2 separate regions of the Homo sapiens genome follow, and region 1 is linked to region 2. The links are contacts of gene promoters, found by promoter capture Hi-C in blood cells and fetal thymus (Javierre and others, 2016). All regions are on one chromosome and are shown on one strand. Each heading gives the region's core, a stretch centred on a gene start or on the middle of the fragment in contact. The rest is flanking DNA. Distances are from core to core; before and after follow the strand shown.

Evidence for each region. The method cuts DNA at HindIII sites, captures the fragments that hold promoters and counts their contacts. A CHiCAGO score of 5 or more calls a contact.
Region 1: a fragment that was not itself captured here is called in contact with the fragment with the promoter of ENO1 in region 2 in 1 of 17 cell types (total B cells); the score reaches 5.2 in total B cells.

Annotation. Positions count from the first base shown.
Region 1 is chr1:8,007,851-8,010,681 of GRCh38, forward strand. No RefSeq gene overlaps it. Among named protein-coding and RNA genes, the nearest start is that of ERRFI1, 17 kb to the right of the region's middle. RefSeq lists a silencer at 1,779-2,073. The HindIII fragment of the contact is 5,423 bases long and covers 1-2,831 here.
Region 2 is chr1:8,876,855-8,879,938 of GRCh38, forward strand. It overlaps ENO1 (enolase 1), which reads right to left and starts at 1,832. Exons shown (of 12, transcript NM_001428.5): 1 at 1,726-1,832. It overlaps ENO1-AS1 (ENO1 antisense RNA 1), which reads left to right and starts at 1,981. Exons shown (of 2, transcript NR_038351.1): 1 at 1,981-2,106; 2 at 2,711-3,031. RefSeq lists enhancers at 669-1,261, 1,262-1,855, 1,856-2,447 and silencers at 1,206-1,325, 1,536-1,585, 2,306-2,555. The HindIII fragment of the contact is 3,104 bases long and covers 695-3,084 here.

The DNA of each region.
Region 1 (2,831 bases), core at 80-2,579, 870 kb before region 2:
AGGCCAAAATTAATTTCTAAATTAATTTGAAAAAGTAGCACCTAAGTTCATTTTGATAGTAACTACTTCCAGATAAAATCCTACATGAGTATTGTGCCAATGTCAGTTTCCTGATTTTGATAAATTCTATGTCATCACTGGGGGAATCTGGGTAATGGGCATAGGGGATCTATTTTGCAACTTCTTTTGAGTGTATAATTACATCAAGATGAAAAGTTAAAAAAAAACTATATAAGAAATACAAAACTGTGCTAGGAGCTTTACTTATTTTTAAGAGAAAAGCTCCAGTATATCCTAAAACTATTAATTATGTGATGAAATTAAGAACCAAAATAGAGACTAGCTTAAAATACATGTTGATTCTTGAACCAGTAGATATATGAATATGGCTTTTCTCTAGTCAACTGTGAATTGCTCTGGAAGATGAAACTCTATGGCCTTTTATTTTATTTTTTAGGGTCCCTAATAGTGAAGAAGCATCCTCTTTTTTTTTGAGACGGAGTTTCACTGTTGTTGTCCAGGCTGGAGTGCAGTGGCTTAATCTCAGCTCACTGCAAATCTCCGCCTCCCGGGTTTTAGTGATTCTCCTGCCTCAGCCTCCCAAGTGGCTGGGATTACAGGCATGAGCCACCACGCCCAGCTAATTTTTTTGTATTTAGTAGAGATGGGGTTTCACCATGTTGGTCAGGCTGGTCTTGAACTCCTGACCTTAGGTGATCCACCCGCCCTGGCCTACCAAAGTGCTGGGATTACAGGCGTGAGCCACCGCACCCAGCCAAGAAACATCCTCTTAAAGAGAGTTCTTACTTTTCACAGCATAGTTAAGACATCTCTTGAGACCTAGAGATGGATAAGCAACAAACAGTATTAAACTTCCATTAGTGTGTTTTTGGAATTTATTAAAAACAAGAGGATACACATCACATACTTGACTGTTGCAGCATAAGAACTGACAAAATTGGCTGGGCGCAGTGGCCCACGCCTATAATCCCAGCACTCTGGGAGGCTGAGGTGGGTGGATCACCTAAGGTTAGGAGTTCGAGACCAGCCTGGCCAACATGGTGAAACCCCGTCTGTACTAAAAATACAAAAATTAGCCGGGCGTGGTGGCAGGTGCCTGTAATCCCAGTTGATCGGAAGGCTGAGGCAGGAGAATCGCTAGAACCCTGGAGGCAGAGGTTGCAGTGAGCCCAGATGGTGCCACTGCACTCCAGCCTGGGTGACGAAGACTTTGCCTCAAAACAAAAAAACAAAAAACTGACATTTACTATTAACCCAAATTTTGAATTCACTTGTAAGAGAGCCCCCTTATCCTCGGCTTCTGTTTGCTGCCACGAAATGGTATCTACTAACCAGTCCCTTAGGTGTGCATAGCACTACAGTGCGCTCTGGCATGGCCTCACATATACTGACAAGGAACTTAAAGCTCAGGGAAGTGAAGTGAATCCTTCCTATAGAAAGTGGGAGGTCAGCCAGGCGTGGTGGCTCACACCTGTAATCCCAGCACCTTGGGAGGCCGAGGCAGGCGGATCACCTGAGATTGGGAGTTCAAGACCAGCCTGACCAACATGGAGAAACCCTATCTCTACTAAAAAAATGCAAAATTAGCCAGGCGTGGTGGCGCCTGCCTATAATCCCAGCTACTTGAGAGGCTGAGGCAGGGAGAATCGCTTGAACCCGGGAGACGGAGGTTGCGGTGAGCCAAGATTGGTGCTACTGCACTCTAGCCTGGAGCCTGGGGTGACAAGAGCAAGAAGACTCTGTGTCTAAAAAAAAAAAGGGAGAAGTCAAGACAGGAACCTGGGTTTTAGGCCAGTACTTTGTTGTGTGACATAACCATCTTTGAGAACTCAACAGTGCATAAAGTGGCAGCTAACACGCAGCTGATTTCCTATTGGCATCTTACTTAGCAACAGAGAAGAGTGTCAGAAGTCCCGGGCTTGACCTATGCCACGAGAACTCTTTAGAATTAACTTGCTTTGTGTGCTGGTTGAGGAATAAGTTGACAGGCAGAAGGTGCTAGGGGATGTGTTCCGGTGGTAGTGTGGCATTGGCATGGCGGCTAGGCACATTTGCTTAGCCAGGAAAAATCAGGGAAAAGGTATATGCTTGCAAACACAAGTAAAAATACAAAGGTAAGATGGAAAGCAAACAGAACTAATGAAACATATTCTTGACCATATGACCAAGAAAAGGTAGTGGAGGGGAGGGGAGAGGCAAAAAGTCTCAGAAGCAGACAAAGTTCTGCAAGTGCTGCATTCAGACATCCAGTCAGCAGGGACTTACTGCACCCCTGGGTCAGGCAGTGCGTCATGACAGTGCACAGGAAGCTGAGTCCCTGCGCTTGGGGAGCTGTCCCTCTTTGGCCAGGGTGCCGCGCACACGGGCCTGCGTGATCTGGAACTTAACTGTTTCTACTACTCCCAGGTATCTTTTACTGTTTTTCTCCATCTCCACTGGCCAAGGCAGTCTTGTCTCAGTTCAGGACTACAGTAGCCTCTGTCCATTAAGTCTTCCCGTTTCCTTTTGCTTCTCTCCGATCTGTCCTCCACACAACAGCCACTGTCCTCTTAAATCACATCACCTTCCTCTCCTGCTTAGGATCTTTCAGTGGCACCCACTACACTTTTCCAGGCCCCTCCTCCTCCTGACAGCCACTTTCTGGAAGCTGCTCAGCTGTTTCCTACTTCAGGGTCTCACACATTGTCTGCTTCCTCCACTGGTAACATGCCTACCTGTTCACTCCCCTCCCTCAGCTTCCATTCTAACCCTTCAGAGCTTAACACCTCACAGGTCCCATTATCAGTCCTCATTGCTCCCATTGTTCATTA
Region 2 (3,084 bases), core at 582-3,081:
ATTTTTTGAGACGGAGTTTCGCTGTTGTCGCCCAGACTGGAGTGCAATGGCGCCATTTTGGCTCACTGCAACCTCAGCCTCCTGTCTCAGCCTCCCGAGTAGGTGGGATTACAGGCGCCTGCCATTACGCCCAGGTGATTTTTTTTTTTTTTTGAGACGGAGTCGCGCTCTTTCGCCCAGGCTAGAGTGCAGTGACACGATCTCGACTCACTGCAGGCTCCGCCTCCAGAGTAGCTGGGACTACAGGCGCCCACCACCACACCCGGCTAATTTTTTGTATTTTTAGTAGAGATGGGGTTTAGTAGAGTAGGATGGTCTCGATCTCCTGACCTCGTGAGCCACCCACCTCGGCCTCCCAAAGTGCTAGGATTACAGGCGTGAGCCACCGCGCCTGGTCGATTTTTGTATTTTCAGTAGAGACGGGGTTTCACCACGTTGGTCAGGCTGGTCTCTAACTCCCGACCTCAGGTGATCCTGAGGAGGCCCACCTCGGCATCCCAAAGTGCTCGGATTACAGGCGTGAGCCACCGCGCCCGGACCATTCACAGCTTTTTTAGCTGCCTGGATGGAACCCCGAATTAGGGACACGGTAAATGAATGGAGCAGTCAGGGCCCGGGTGGGCCTGAAAGGCAAGTGAAGCAATGGACCCTACCGCCCAGAGAAGCGCACAGAGCAGGGGAACATTGAACAGGAAGCTTTCTTAAAATACATCCTTCTTGGCCTAGCGCGGTGGCTCACGCCTGTAATCCCAGCACTTTGGGAGGCCGAGGCGGGCGGATCACCTGAGGTCGGGAGCTCAAGACCAGCCTGGCCAACATGGTGAAACACCGCCTCTACTAAAACAACAACAACAACAAAAAAAAAACAAAATTAGCCGGGCGTGGTGGCGCATGCCTGTAATCCCAGCTACTCGGGAGGCTGAGGTAGGAGAATCGCTTGAACCCAGGAGGCCGAGGTTGCGGTGAACCGAGATCCGAGATCGCGCAATTGCACTCCAGCCTGGGCAACAATAGCAAAACTCAAAAAAAAAAAAAAACCAAATCAGATCAGGCCCGATTTTTGGTGGCCAGCCGGGGAGCCGCTCTTGCCCAACTTGGGCGAGGTCGCCTGGAGGACTTGCCAATGATCTAACGGCTCTGCTGTAGGTTCCTCAAGAGGTGCCTTCTCGGAGTTAAATGAGTCACCGCTTACTAGGCAGAAGCGCGGGCCGCGAGCGCGGGCGAGAGGCGGGGGCTACCGGTGGGGGAGGGGGCCGCAGCCTCGTGGCCATCTCCACTATCGCCGCCCTCCTCCATTTTAGGAAGGGCCTGGCCTGAGTGGCCACCGCCGCTAAGTCTGCGTCTATCCCAAAAACCTTACACTTGGCTACGATGGAAAAGCAACTTCCACTCCCAACTCCCGCTGTGCTAAGCAGCTCGCGTGTGCAGCTCCCGACCTTCCCTGACAGTGACTCGGCCCCGCAGTCGGTAATCACGTGTTGATCTGCACTTTCCCCTCCAAAGAAATCGGGGGCCCAGCACGTGCGCCTGGCATTGCGCCCCCGCCCCGGGCCTCGGGGTGAGCGGGGGCGCCAGTTCCCACCCAGGGAGGCGGCTTGCACGTGCCCCCGACCCCGCCACGCTGGGCCTGCGGGCGCGCCGCCTCCCTCGGAGGGAAAAGAGCCCCACAAGCCCAGAAAAGCCCTGCGCCGCCTGCCCGTTGCTCAGCCCTTCCCCAATCATTACCTAGCCACTGGGTCTCGTCGCCTAGGAGAGGAAGCGGAGGGTGCTGCAGACACCGAGGTGAACGTAAAGCCGGCGAGATCTCCGTGCTCCGGGTACCCACAGATACTGTCCGCGCCGCCCGCGCCGACTTCCTGCCTAGCTAAGGCGAGCCCCACCCACTTCCCGCCTCCGGGGCACGCCCCCTCAGCTCCGCCTCGCCATTCGTCGGGAGAGCCGTCACTCATTCCCTCACCTCCCGGAAAGGGGTGGGACTGCGACGGCTGCAGTAGCGTGGAAAGGGGGGTGACGTCCCGCGGACTTGAGGCGGGCAGATCTGGGGGGCCCCGACTCCCCAGCGGCCCTGTAGTGGTGCGGGCGAAACTCTGGCCCCAGATAGGACCGGTGAGCCGAACTGGGGTGTGCGGAGCCGGGGCTCCGGGGGATGGCCCGGGGCGGCGTGGCGGGCATGAGAGCTCGGGGCTCCGTCACGTACTCCGAGTCCCGCACGCACTCAGCGTCGCTCTGGGGCCCCACGTCCGGCCCTCGACCTTGCTGACAACTTTGGCGGCCCGGGCCTGCCGCGGCCCTCCTGCCCCGCCCCTCCTGCCTCGCGCCGCGATCCGAGAGACCCCGTTGGCGTCGAGTCGTTGAGAGGCTGCGCGCCTCGGCCCCACTCCGGGGTTGGGGCGCTGGCCCCGCCGCAGCGCTGCGTGTCCGGGGCCACGTGCGCCGCCTGCGCCTGCGCGCTGCCCTCCAGCCGCGCCCGTCTGGCCGGGCTCCGCCTGGCACCCGCCAAGGTGACCCTGTCCCTTTCTCCTTGCTGCGGTGAGAATCAGGCCGAGACAGCCAAAGGAAGGTTCACTTTCCTTTAATTCTACCTCATACTTTTTGAGTGCCTTCTAGGTGTCCGGCGCGCCCCCACGTGCTTCCCCAGTGTTAATTCATTCTCTCTCTAGTCCATGTCATGTTGCCTCTCAAATTTTACATCCCTCTCATTCCCATCTAGGGAACTAGATCAAACCTACCTGGATTCTTGTGAACCATTCATGTGAATTATTTGGAACTGGAATTTCACACAGACCCGGGGAATTTCTCAAAGTTCAAGACGGGTCATATTCCGTGGAATACGGAAGGAGTTGGAGTGATTTCACTTTTCTGATCAAGAACTGATAGCCATTAAAACTCAGCTCCGCAATATATCCCCCCACTCCAAGGGAGGGCTGAGATGATCACTTCGTTTTCTGTTACGGCTACTTTTATATTTTTCAACATTACTGCTGGTCTGTAAGAGAACTAAAACATCTGATTTTCCTCATTTCCTTGTAAAGAGGTGTTCAAATATGTACTTGAATTTAATTATTTCTTCTGGTCAGCTGCAAA